Linked DNA regions of Homo sapiens: region 2 is linked to region 1. The links are contacts of gene promoters, found by promoter capture Hi-C in human tissues and cell types (Jung and others, 2019). All regions are on one chromosome and are shown on one strand. The core of a region is centred on a gene start or on the middle of the fragment in contact, and the rest is flanking DNA. Distances in the headings are between cores, read along the strand shown. Region 1 holds the start of VTCN1 (V-set domain containing T cell activation inhibitor 1). Region 2 has its middle 27 kb from the start of LINC01525.

Region 1 (6,744 bases), core at 1,658-4,157:
TGAGAAAATACATTTCCATTGTTTCAACCACCAGTCTATGGTACTTTTTTATGGCAGCCTTAGTAGACTAACCCAAGGAGGAGGAATCAGGGATGTAGGGAGCCAGGCAGGCGGAATAAAGGGTGACTTTGAGGTTTCTGACTGTGGCAGCCTAGTGTGGGATGCTGTTGTGTTCCAAAAGATGTGACCTAGGGGGAGCAGCCGGGTTAGAGATGGGAGATGGTGCCTTCTAGACAGCCGATTGGAGATGTCCACTAAGCAGCTGGGTATGTGGGGTTGGGGCTTGGTCAAGGGAAGGGAGCTGAGGATGCAGATATTGTGATCTCCAGAGCAGTCGAAGCAGAGCAGTGGTCAAGGTTGCCCAGGGCACATGTGTGCTATGAGAAGAAAAGGCAGAGGACAGGACCACAGGGACCCCTATCACTTATGGGAGAGGCGAAGGAAAAGGGCCTGGGCACAAGACAGTGAGGGGCATTAGTGAGAGTCTCAGAGAACAGTGTCAGGGGAGCCAAGAGAGGCTTTCAAATGCTGGAGAGTTCAATGTTTCCAAGACTCTCTCTTTACACGTGCACGCGCGTGCACATGCGCACACACACACTTTTGGGCTGTTGCTTTGTAATGATTTCCCTCATTATTTTGTGTGTGATATTCTTCAAGTTTTGGAGTCAGAACCAGAGTACTGTCCATTTGCTTCTCCAGAGGCAGCAGAATGCTTTTCAGCTCCACATCCCTGCCAGGTAATGCCTGCCCTCTAACAGGTGGGCCACTTCAGCTACATTTTCCCTCTCACTCGGAGGTGTCTCTGCTGGGTTGTCTTGATTTTCCCTCCAGGGTCATCCTTAGCTGTCCCTTTAGTGATGATGCATGGCTAGAAGAGAGAAACTCCATGGCTCTGCCCCAGGGTGTTTGAGGTGGGGCTGCTTTTTTGTTTTTTTTTTAAGACAGCATCTTGCTTTGTTGCCCATCGTGGAGTATACTGGCACGATCATGGCTCACTGCAGCTTCAAGCCCCACTCAAGTGATCCTCCCACCCCAGCCTCCTGAGCAGCTGGGACTATATGCCCAGCTAATTTTTTGTTTGTTTTCCTGTTACTAGATGGATTCTTTTTTTTTTTTTTTAAATTTTGTAGAGACGAAGTCTCAGTATGCTGCTCAGGCTAGTTTCGAACTGCTAGGCTCAAGAATTCCTCCTACCAGCCAGGCGCAGTGGCTCATGCCTGTAATTCCAGTACTTGGGGAAGTCGAGGTGGGTGGATCACTTGAGGTTGGGAGTTCGAGACCAGCTTGGCCAATATGGAGAAACCCCGTCTCTACTAAAAATACAAAAATTAGCTGAGTGCGGTGGTGCACCTATAATCCCATCTACTTGGGATGCTGAGGCAGGAGAATCGCTTGAACCCAGGAGGCAGAGGTTACAGTTACAGAGCCAAGATTGTACCATTGCACTCCAGCCTGGACAACAGAGCGAGACTCAGTCTCAAAAAAAAAAAATTCCTCCTACCTTGGCCTCCCAAAATATTGGGATTATAAGCTTGAGCCACTGTGCCCAGCTGAAGCTGCTCTTCTTAAGGCTCATTGAGGGGTAGGGCAGAATCCCTGTGCCTTTGGTTGGAATTACAGAAACCACTGCTCCCACTGCCCTCAGCTTCCCCAGACCCGGGAAGTGACCATTCAGCACTGGCACTGCATAGATTCCAGGGCATCACCCTTTACTTATTCTGGGGAAGGGAAAGCACATAGACCCGCCTCTCATTTATCCCTCACTGCAACCCAGTGAGACACACATTGAAGTAAAGTGATGTTCTCAAAGCCACATGATTAATTAGGAACCCAGGAATTGAACCTAGCTGTTTGACTCTAAAGGTCTTTCCACTGTGACCTTGCCCTCTCCTGCTGCCTTATTTTCACCACTCAGTTCTCTCTGCTCCATCTTTACTCAATGGTTGCTCCACCTGCCCATACGCAAACACTAGGAGGATGCTGCTGAAGGCCTGGAGCACCTTCACTGCAAACATAGTCAGTCAGCAGCAGCAGTAAGCCAGGCAACCAGTCATGAAACTTTCCCATCCAAGGTACTTCTGGGGGCTGGAGGAAACAATAAGGAGAGAGAGAGAGAATAAGAGAGAGAGAGAGCAACGTTTAGGCTTTAACGAGAATCTTGCCTAGTTGGCAATCTGCTGGATGAAATGTCAGAGATTTTTGCTAACCCACTCACCTTTGACAGCAATAGCTTCTGAGTATTGGGATCTCCAGAGAGAGGGGCAGTTGAAGCAGAGCACATTCAGTGTCTTTTTGGAGTCTCAAAAAAATTGCAAGGTGGGAAGTGCTGGCCCTCTCCTGCTCCCACTGAAATGAAGCTGGAAGAGAATTGCACACCCAGCTGGGCATCTCAGGAGACCTAGGCAAGTTCAGTCTTGAGTGACAAACTCAGTGGTCTTGTCACTTCAGCTCATGGCCTTCCTGAGGTCCCCCAGCATGAGTCTCCTCCACGAGAGACCTGACCAATGGTGACCCAGCCTCTGTTTGAGCGTCATCTACCAGCAGAGATGGGGACTCCTGGCCCCAAGGCTCCCAGCATAGCCTGACACTTTGAGCTATTCCAGTCCTTTCTTATTTTGAGATTAAATCTCCCTCCCTACAGCTCCCTTCCACAGTCAGGAGGAAAGTCCTGCTGAATGCAGGCCCTGAAGCAAGGGCCAGGGAAGCTTTTCCTCGTCACCCTCCCAAAGTCAAGACTTGGAAAGGCAGCTCTGAGCCCCTGGCTTGGCTGGCTGGCCGGAGCAGGCAGCCACTGTGCCTGCAGGGAATTCTGCACAGCCAGTTTCCTCATACCTGAGCCGTCTACAGCTGCACGCACCACTCCCGGCCTCAACACACTATTTAAGGCCAATACACGGGAGCTGGTTGTGAGTCACCAAGGAAGGCAGCGGCAGCTCCACTCAGCCAGTACCCAGATACGCTGGGAACCTTCCCCAGCCATGGCTTCCCTGGGGCAGATCCTCTTCTGGAGGTAGTATATACTCTTCTCTCTATCCTTATGGGTGAAGGGAACAGCAGTGAGGTCTTTTGGGGATGCTGAGCACTGCTGGGCTGTCCCATAGGACCCCACCTGTAATTTTATCTGATCCAGCATTGGGCCAGCGGGAGCCTGGCCAGACAAGAGCCTAACTGGATTTGACTTAACATCCCACCTCAGCTGCTCAAGGCACCTGTTCAGGGTTAGGGAGGTTTTTGGTTGGTGGCCTGCCATGGAGGGCTGGCGCTTGCTGGGCAGCTTGGACTGAGGGGAGTACGTGCCAAGCTGGGCATTCCCCTGAGATGTCAAGGCTGTGAGCACCATGGGGACACTGAGCAGGCTGGTGTGGGTTGCATGGTGGGATGGCAGGGAATCCATGACTGCGACAGTGGAGGGGATGCAGGAGGACCCTTTATGCAGCCCCCAGGGGGACGGAGGAGAATGTGCTTTCATTCTCTGTGGGTGTGATTTCTTGCTACTCTTGAGCAATTCACACCAACACCCCTCCCCAGGCCCCCCCAGCTCAAAGGTTGGGTCCCTAGTTTTCCTAGGAGCTCCTTGGAGAGGAGAACTTGCTGCTGCTGCTGCTGCTGCTGCTGCTGCTGAACTCCCCAGAGAGGAAGAAGGAAGCAAGTTCCCTCCCCTACCTTTTGCTTCTCCCCTGAGCTACATTCTAGTTGCCTCTTTTTCCCTCAGAACAGCATTTACCCTCCTGGAAGGAAAGAGATGGAAAGTGCAGGGTTTTCTTGAAATGATTGATTCAGTGTCAGTCACAACTCAGGACAGTGTTTAGGGAGGCTGATACTTGTTGGTTCTAGAGGTTGTTTGAAGGACCAGTCCTCCAATTTGTTTCTTTTTCCCACAAAAGGAAGAAAAGAAGAGAGGGAAGGAGAGAGGAAAGGAATCCTCAGGTCAACAGTGAAAAGTTTGTGAAGAGACTACGAGAGTAATGTTACTTCCCAGAGGCAGCCTAGAAAGTTCTTTTCCTTGAAACAAAATATCAGCTCCCCTGACTCGACTCACGTTTATCTGAAATCACCTGCCGGGTAGCAGAGGTGAAGGACTCTGCAGGGCTGGTGGGGGTGGCTGCAGCGGCACTTCTGCCCCCACCCCTGTGCCTGGCTACAGCACTGTGCTCCAGGAGAAGCAGTGGGTGGCAGGGGCTTCCCTCTAGACCCTTCTGCCCTGAGAGGATGTCCCTAAGAAGCACCTATGTCAGAGGAGCTAGCATTTTGTGAGTGACTCCTTCCCTGCCCTGCACTAGGTGTCTTAGAGCAGCGTGTCCACCACTGCCTTGTGAAGACTCGTTATCACCTCAGAGAAGTTAAGGCCAGATGACTGTGAAACTGTGCATGAGGGGATCTTGCTCTGAAATCCCAAGCTCTCTCCCCCTGCCACCCTTGCCCCTGCTCCTGCCAGTCCCAGTTCTCCATGCCCACCATTCCTCCAGCCTTGATCCCAAGGACATGAAACACTCCTCCTGCAACAAGTGGCTCCATTGTTCAGAGGTCAGATGGGATGTGTGGGCTCTCTCGTAATGCTTTGCATCCAGTCTGACTGGTTTTGCTGGAGGATTAGCAGGAGGTGGGTGTTCAAAATTCGTATCCCCTACCCTTCAGAAACCCACTGGAATCAACAGAGACTCCTCTTGTTGGCTCCTGCATGCCTTGTTGGCTATTCATGCTCTGCAGTTTCAGAAGCAGCGACTGTCCATGAGGGTGGCAGATCCTTTGTGCAAGGGACCTCCAGGAAGAGGGCCAATGAGCAGCTTCAGTGGGGAGCAGGATCATGAAAGCTCATCTCAGGGATGCAGGTGGAGCCTGCCTGGGGTAACTCTTGACCCTAATAACCCTCTTCCTTTGTCATAATGGCCTTAATTCATAAAAATACCTCTCCTGGAGGTGATCATGACAGTGGTGATGTTGGAACGCTCATGAAAGGGCCTGCCATCCTCTGCAGACCCAGTGAGTTATTCTCCTAAGTATTCATAATTTCCAGAGAGCCTAATTCCTTCAGATCTCACTCTCAGCATGCATGCTGCTCAGGGATGGAATGCTGATGTGCAGATTTTACCGTGCCTGGCCTCTGTGCACATTTAGGAACTGTGTGACTAGAACCCTCCTCCCCTCTCCCCATCATGGCTGTTGACAGCAGCAGCATTCGCTCATGAAACATTTGCAGAATGCTTGCTAGGAGGACAGGGGTAGAAAACCCTTGCTCTGAGGGGGTTAAGTTCCAGTCAACAATATTAACTGAGCACTCACTGTGTCCTGAATATTGCACTAGACAATGGGGCAAAAGTGACTAAGATGCTGTCAAGGTCATAACCTAATGGAGGAGAAAGACTCCCACATAACAACTCTAACGCGCCACCCTTAAGTCCTCAGACAATAAGCACAGGTTGCAAGGGGAGCACTTCCCTCACCCAAGGCTTTTGGGGAGGGTTTCTGAGCCAGAGAATGGGTGGGCTGTGTCTTGAAAAATGAGTTCATATGACCCAGGTGAAGAAGGGTGGAAAAGGCTGTCTAGGTAGAGGAAACAGAATTAAATCAAATACAATAAAACTCATGAATGAGCATGGTGTGTTGGAAAGCTACACACTACTGTGTATTATCATCATAACATGAAGTTTGAGGCAGGAAATGCTGGGAGATGAGGCTGAGAGGTCACACCAGGTCACACTGGGCCTTCGATAGACTCAGAACTGGGATTTGTGGTGATGAGGAGCCCTTACAGGCACAGGCCATATTGGTGTCCAACTTTCAGCTTCCCTGAGCCTATAAAATCTGAGCCTTCAGAGCCTTCAGAGGGGGGTCAAGGTGGTTTTCGTCTCAGGTGGGCAGCAAGCCTGGAGGCCAGAAGAAGAGTTGGGAAACAGTTGTGGTCAGAGTATACAGGATGACAGGGACCTGGCATAGATGAGAGTGAGAGTAAAGAACTACAGGAGGAAAATGGATTCAGGAAACACTGGACTTAAAACTGGTGATATTTGATCAATGATTGGAGGGGCAGGTAGGATGCTGCAGAATAAGAGTAGGTGAGGCAAGGGGCAGATCCTGGAATGACTACCATGTTTCTGGATTGGGTGCAGTGAGTTGGGGACAAGGAAGAGAGAGGAGAGCTAGTTAATGTGTTGAGCTTGAGATTCCCCTGGGACCTTCAGATGGGGATGCTCCCTGGGCAGCAGAGGGCATGAGGCTAAAACTAGGAGAGGTCAGGCCTGGGGATAGACATCTAGTGTCAATAGCTCAAGGGCAAGGAATAGTCATAGGGGGTGGCTCCTACGGAGAGCATGTGGAGGGAGGGAAGCAAGGGGCCAGGACGGATGGCTGAAGAACACCAACATTCAAGGGTGGGCAGAGGAAGAGGGGGGTCAGGGAAAGAGCTGAGAATAAATGGCAAGACAGGTAGCAAGAGGCCAGGATAGAGATTAATGGATGTCAACAGAGCAGAGTTTCATGGAACACACAAGGCTAGTGATCCATAAACCTTTACCCTGTTTCATCTGAAATCACTAGTGACAATGGCATTGATAAAAACATGTCACAGGAAGGAAGCTACTGAGTAGAGAAGGAGCAGGGATCTTTCTACCATAGGAAGGTGGATGAAGTAGAGAATGAGGGATCCTGGGACAAGGAGGCTCAGGGAGTTTGCTTTGGAATTTTGGTTTCCCATTTCTCCTAAGTTTGCAAGCTGGTGCCTGGCTCAGACATCTCAGACCTTGAAGG
Region 2 (6,744 bases), core at 1,398-3,897, 58 kb before region 1:
CTATTCAAAGTCATCCCTCTGCTCACAGAGATAGGTGTATATTCTGATTGCCTCTTTCGGAAAGACTTACCAGAAACTCAAAAGAATGCAACCATCTGTCTCTCACCTACCTGTGATCTGGAAGCCCCCAGTGGGGGGGCCTTGCTTTGAGTTGTCCCTACCTTTCTGGATGGAACGAACGTACTTCTTACATATATTGACTGATACCTCATGTCTCCCTAAAATGTATAAAACCAAGCTGTGCCCCGGTCACCTTGGGCACATATCATCAGGACTTCCTGAGGCTGTGTCCCAGTGCATCCTCAACCTTGGCAAAATAAACTTTCTAAATTAACCGAGATCTGTCTCAGATTTTCTGGTTTCACAATAGTTACCATTGATTTAGCACTATTATGTGCCAAATCCTGCTAAATGCTATATAACTATTAGCTCATTTAATTTTCATAACAATCTTTGCAGAGATCCTGTTATTAGCTTCATTTTATAGCTATGAGAAACTAAGATTAGAAAGGCTAAATAATTTGCCCAAGTTCAAATCTAGGAAGTGGTGGAGTGAGATTTGAAACTCAATTCTGTCTGACACCAAAAACTTGGCTAATTAACAACTAGACAAAATGCCCCTTGCAACTATATTACAGCATGCTTTCCTTGCTGTGAATAATTAGTTCTTTTGTAGCACTGAGAAGAGAATTGTATAATGCCAAAAAAAAGAAAAGAGTGTGTGTGTTATGTAGTATATTTTCTGGGGGAAAAATGGACACTTGTAGCTGCATAAATATTAAACCCTTCCTCTTAGTCTATTTTCTTCAACATCCATGAAAATAACTGGACATAGACTAAAAAGCATTTCTCAATATTCAATACATCAGGAATCTACAAATTATTCAGGACAGTAGGATCTACGGAAAGATATATCTTGAAAATAGGCCTTATCTGTTGCCCAAGAGATACAGGGCCATTGGTAATTTCAATGCCCTCTTTGGTTTATATGGACAGTGTTAAGCAAAATAACTTTTAGTGTATCTTTTTTAAACCTCTTTCAAAGAGAGATACTCTATCAAGGCCGTTTTCAATGTTTCAGTACCTCTTGCCAGAGCCCTGCACATGTTCCTGCATCCTAACATGCTCACTGTGGGTTATGTCCTGAGAAGACCTGCTTGGTTTAGCAGCTGTGGTACCCATGAAAGAAATACATCTCTGATCCTGTGGTAAGTGAAATCAAATTTCCCTGCATTTCCGTAAGACCCCCTATACCAAAACATTGTTGGGGCTCACAAACTGATACCTCAAAATATGCTCATTGACATACTTAACTGAAGAAGCCTCAAGGTCTCTCTGATCTTCCCCATCTGGCCCCCCCAGTCTGTCCCAAAGACAGGATGATGTTGAAGTTCATTTATCTGGCCAGACATGGTCTCTCACGCCTGTAATTCCAGCAGTTTGGGAGGTCGAGGTGGGCGGATCACTTGAGGCCAGGAGCTCAGGACCAGCCTGGCCAACATGGTGAAACCCCATCTCTACTAAAAAGAAAAAAAAAGAAGTTTCTTCATCTGTCTGAGATCCTGAACAGATCCTTTCACAAGATAACATACAAGTTCATCTCTGTTCCTTGAACCGTTCATTCTCTCCAGCAATTCCCATAACAGAATTTCTCTTCTCCATCACCCCATAACCTATTTTGCCAGGATGGTACATAAGTTTCTGAATCCCGTTGGGGTGGGGTAATCACTCTGCAATTCATTCTGTGTGCATGTTAATAAATTTGTATGCCTTTTCTTCAATCAATCTGCCTTTTGTGAGTTGATTTTTCAATGAAATTTTTTTTTTTTTTTTTTTTTGAGGCAGAGTCTCTGTCACCCAGGCTGGAGTGTAGTGGCATAATCTCGGCTCACTGCAACTTCTGCCTCCCGGGTTCAAGAGATTCTCCTGCCTCAGCCTCAAGAGTAGCTGGACTACAGGTGCCTGCCACCATGCCCGGCTAATTTTTGTATTTTTAGAAGAGATAGGGTTTCACTATGTTGGCCAGGCTGGTCTCAAACTCCTCACATGAATATTCACACTGAATATTCATGGTGATCTGCCCTCCTCAGCCTCCTACAGTGCTGGGATTACAGGGGTGAGCCACCGCCCCCGGCCCTCAGTGAAATTTTAGAGTGGGGAGGGGAAGCTTTCCTTAGGCCCCTATAGCACAATGGTCAGTTTAGTATACCTTGTTTTCGATTCCTTTTGTCTTTGCTAAGAATTTAAGTAACACCTGAAGCACCAGTCAGGCAGCATTCCAAAGAAGGTTCAGCCGCATTTAAACCGTCGTGTCCCCCTGTGAGGCACTCCAGGCCAGATCCCAATCTCAGCCACATTCTTCACTTACACTTGACTGGCTGAGAAAGAACAGAACAAAACTGCCTTGGGTCAGAGGCCACTTTTTTATATCAGATGATCTAAACTGTTCCTGGAAGGATGTTTATCTGCTGGAACAAACACCCTGGGGCCTCCTGGCTGAAGCTGGGCTTTCCTCTGTCCATGCATCCTCCAAGGCTATCCAGAGTGCTTTGAGCAGCCCGCCTTGTCCATTCTTTCCATTTGTCTCTGTCTCCCCAGAGAGAAACGCCACAGGGAAGTACATGACAAGCTGCTATGTTACCTTAACATTGAATTCCCAGCAGGGATCACAAAGCCATGGAAGATACTGGTTCAGAAATTAGCTGAGAGGGACAGAGGGCTTTTAGCAGACGAGTGCTGGCTTTGCCTTAGAGAGCTTTCTGGGTGGTGCTCTGACTAAGGGCATTCAGGTCTTTATGATTCAGGGTTATTATAATGGCGGTGCTAACTTTTCTTGCGTACTGATGTAACTGGCAGCACATTAAGTGCTTCACCTATATTACTGCAGTCTTCCCAAGAATGCTATGAGATTGGACCATTAGTGCTAGGAGGTAGAAGGGCTGGGAGGTTCCCTTACCCATGGCCATACCAAGGGTCTGAGCCAGGATTCACACTGGTCTGCCTGGCTTTAGCATTCATCCCTCACTGTTACTATGCTGCAGAGGATGAATTGGCAGCCCATGGGCTGGATTTTGTTTAGCCTGCCAGTGTTTTAAAAGACATTTAAAAATCTGAGCCAATATTTAAAATGCAAGTGATTTCACATATAAACAAACAAAATTCTAACATCTCTTAAAAATAGCTATGACTGGCAACACTGGGTCCTCAATCCCAAAGGCTCCTGGCTATTGGAGGTAAGTATTGGCTTCCCTGCTACATGGGGCATGTGCTCCCAGTTTCCCATAGAACCTAGTATGGCAGGCTGGCTCCATTCATGTACCTGCTCCAGAAGAGCCAGACTTGCATTATAGCCTTCTATAGCATGATTTTTGGGTGCTGTGTGTACCCCTGACCTGGCATAGCCCTAGAAACAGAATTCTGTGCCAATACCATAGCTTGGGTTGGTTAGGAACAGAGAACTCAAGTGTAAGCTGCTGAGGGTTTGTGGCAGGTAATTTATGGTTAATTCCAAAGTCAGTTCATCTCCAAGGGAGAGGGCAGGATAAAGAGGTGGCATGGGAAGTGCTGGAAGTGACCATAGACCTGGGATTGACTCCAGGTTCTGCCACAGGCTGGTTACATGAGCCACATTGAGTCACTTTCTTTCCCTGTACCTATAAGAAGGAGAGATTGGAGTTGATGTTGTCAGGTGGGTGTCAGCTCTGAAATTCTAATATGCCACTGCTTGTTAGTCAAATTTTCACAAGAGAAACTGACTTTGGAGGTGTATCTTCTGGCAGTGGACAATGGGTGCAAACGAATAGGTAATTAGCAAACAACTCCGGCTCAGGTTCAGAGCAGCTGGAAGGTTATGGACCCGGCCCAGTGAAGAGAGGTGTGGCCCAAAGCACTGCAGCCATTTTGAATGCCAGAGCTTTCTGTCACATTAGTTCAGGGGTCAGTTCAGGGCTTGGCTCTTTATTTAGAAACCATAATAGGAACTACTTAAACCATTCTTTTCCAGAGCAAATGCCTCACCCCAAAAAATATCACTGGGAACTATATTAGAGAGAATTGCACAATCTTTCAGTGCATTCAGAGGAACTCACAGGAACTGTATTGTTTTCTACTTTCTTCCTTGCTTTTGAAACACAAACCTTATCACAACAAAGTGAACCTGTTTCTCCAATTAAAGCAGTCATGAAAATAAATAGTTATCCACAAAACTGCACTGTAAGAAATAAAAATAAGTCAGTAGATCAGGCAAAGTGCCAAGAAAACTCCTTCGTAATACATTTTACTTATCTCCTCTTTTGTGCCTCTGCAGGTCTCTTAATTCCCTCTGGCCTGTCACCATCTCTGAGTGTATGTTTCATTGGCTTCTTTGAATAAGCCTTATTGTCTCTTTAGCAAAGGTGGTGTGTGCAACCTTATGTTCTGTTGCTTGTCTGAAAATGAGACCTCAGGCATGACTTCCTGGTATCTCCCAGGAATGAGCAGGTTTTAGGATGTGGACCCAATAGAAACTCTTCTGAGAGCCAGATACCAATTGAGGTTCTTAGAGACCTCTATGAGAAGGCCAACTTGACTGAACTGAGCCTACTGGCTTGACTTTGTAGAAACTTCCTTCTATAGCGGAGGCTAGCTGACTTTCCAGCTTGTTCTGGGGCAGTGCCTCCTAGATCAAGGCTTCTCCAACTTTAATGTTAGAATGTAGATTCTCATTCAGAAAGCCTGGGGCATGGTCCAGGAGAGGGTCTGCATTTCTCCCAGGGCCCCTGGTGATGCTGATGCTCCTAGTCCAAGGACTGCATTTTGAGTTGCAAGGTCCTACACTAGTAATTCTCAAGTGTCTGCTACCAGGACCAACAGCAACAGCATCAACTGGTAACTTGTTAGAAATGGAAATTCTTAGGCTCCACCCCAGATCTCCTGAATCAGAACCCCTGGATGTGATCCAGTAATCTCTATTTTTTTTTTTTTTTTTTGAGACAGACCCTCACTCTTGTCCCCCAGGCTGGAGTGCAGTAGTGTGATCTGGGCTCACTGCAACCTCTGTCTCCCGGGTTCAAGCAATTCTCCTGCCTCAGCCTCCTGAGTAGCTGGGCTTACAGGCACCTGCCACAATGCCTGGCTAATTTTTGTAGTTTTGGTAGAGATGGGGTTTCACCATGTTGGCCAGGCTGGTCTTGAACTCCTGACCTCAAGTGATCTGCCCGCCTTGGCCTCCCAAAGTGCTGGGATTACAGGCGTGAGCCACTGTGCCTGGCTGTAATCCGTGTTTTAACAAACCTTCCAGGTGAGCCTGATACATGTGAGAGTTTGAGAACCACTGTCTGTGTCATTGTTATGGGTTGAATTGTGTCCCTCCTCTAAAGGATATATAGAGAACTCAATATATGAAATCCTAACCTCTAGTACTTATGAATGTAACTTTATTTGGATATAGGGTCTTTGCAGATTTAATCAAATTAAGATGAAATCATTAGGATGTACCTAGCCTAATATGATCAGCGTCCTTTAAGATGATCATGTGACATCACAGAGACACAGAGGGCAAAGATGATCTGATGACAACAGAGGCAGAGGTTTGAAGTGATGCATCTACAAGCTAAGGAATGCCAAAGATGACCAGAAAAAAAAAAAAAGAAGCTAGAAGAGGCAAAAAAAAGAATGTTTTTTTCTCCGTGTTTCCGAGGCAACATGGCCCTGCCAACATCTTAATTTTGAAAGTTTAGCCTCCAGAAGTGTGAGACAATAAGTCGCTGTCATTTTAAACAACATCATTTGTGGTACTTCGTTACAGCAGCCTTAGGAAACTAATACAATCGTGAAAGGCTTTCCCTGCTCAGTGATAGAACAGCAGGTACTTATAGGGCTCAGGTGCGGCTATTGACTGATGGGTAGCAGAAGATAGGGAAAGAAATGGAAGAAGGCAAAATAGAAAGCAAGAAGCAGTGATGATTTTTGTTCTGAGGTATTTGTGGGCTTAATAATTTTTAAAACATTATTTGTAAGTTAATTATCAAACATTTATTGAATGCTTACTACATGCCAAGATCCGTTTTAGATTCTGGGGATATAACAATGATCAAGTCCAGTTTCTTTTCCTCAAGAAACTTGCAGTCAGTACAGGAAAGAGTTGAGTAAACACGCCCTCACTATGCAAGGGCAGATGGCACTCAGAGTACACAGGCTATGGGAGCAGGGAAGCCACACAGAGTTGTATTGGTTGCGCATTGCACCACACATAGTCTTAGATGTAAATGGTCTCCCCTAGGGTTGTGTGGTGCACAAATGCTCTACTGAGCATGACAGCTCCGTTAGGAAGATTCAAGAGGAACATTAAATTCAGTTCTTTTGATTTTTATTTTATTTATTTATTTATTTATTTTTGAGATGGAGTTTCACTCTGTCGCCCAGGCTGGAGTGCAGTGGTGCAATCTCAGCTCACTGCAACCTCCACCTCCAGGTTTCAAGTGATTCTCCTGCCTTAGCCTCCCAAGTAGCTGGGATTACAGGCACCCGCCACCACACCCAGCTAATTTTTGTATTTTTAGTAGAGATGGGGTTTCACCATGTTGGCCAGGATGGTCTTGATCTCTTCACCTTATGATCCGCCCACCTTGGCCTCCCAAAGTGCTGGGAATACAGGCGTGAGCCACTGCACCCGGCCGTCTTTTTATTAATTTATTAAATTTTCAAGGCAGTCCTCTAGGGTCCATTCAATTTATTCTTGAAGGTCAAGAAAAGTTTCCCAAGGGA

What was found. The method cuts DNA at HindIII sites, captures the fragments that hold promoters and counts their contacts. A contact is called where the count stands out against the background at its distance.
Region 2: a contact is called between a fragment that was not itself captured here and the fragment with the promoter of VTCN1 in region 1, in 1 of the 25 tissues and cell types used here (bladder).

Annotation. Positions count from the first base shown.
Region 1 is chr1:117,207,090-117,213,833 of GRCh38, reverse strand. VTCN1 (V-set domain containing T cell activation inhibitor 1) reads left to right here and starts at 2,907. Exons shown (of 6, transcript NM_024626.4): 1 at 2,907-3,010. The coding sequence starts at 2,979. The HindIII fragment of the contact is 7,128 bases long and covers 2,119-6,744 here.
Region 2 is chr1:117,264,732-117,271,475 of GRCh38, reverse strand. No RefSeq gene overlaps it. Among named protein-coding and RNA genes, the nearest start is that of LINC01525, 27 kb to the left of the region's middle. RefSeq lists an enhancer at 2,055-2,573 and a silencer at 2,535-2,829. The HindIII fragment of the contact is 4,907 bases long and covers 194-5,100 here.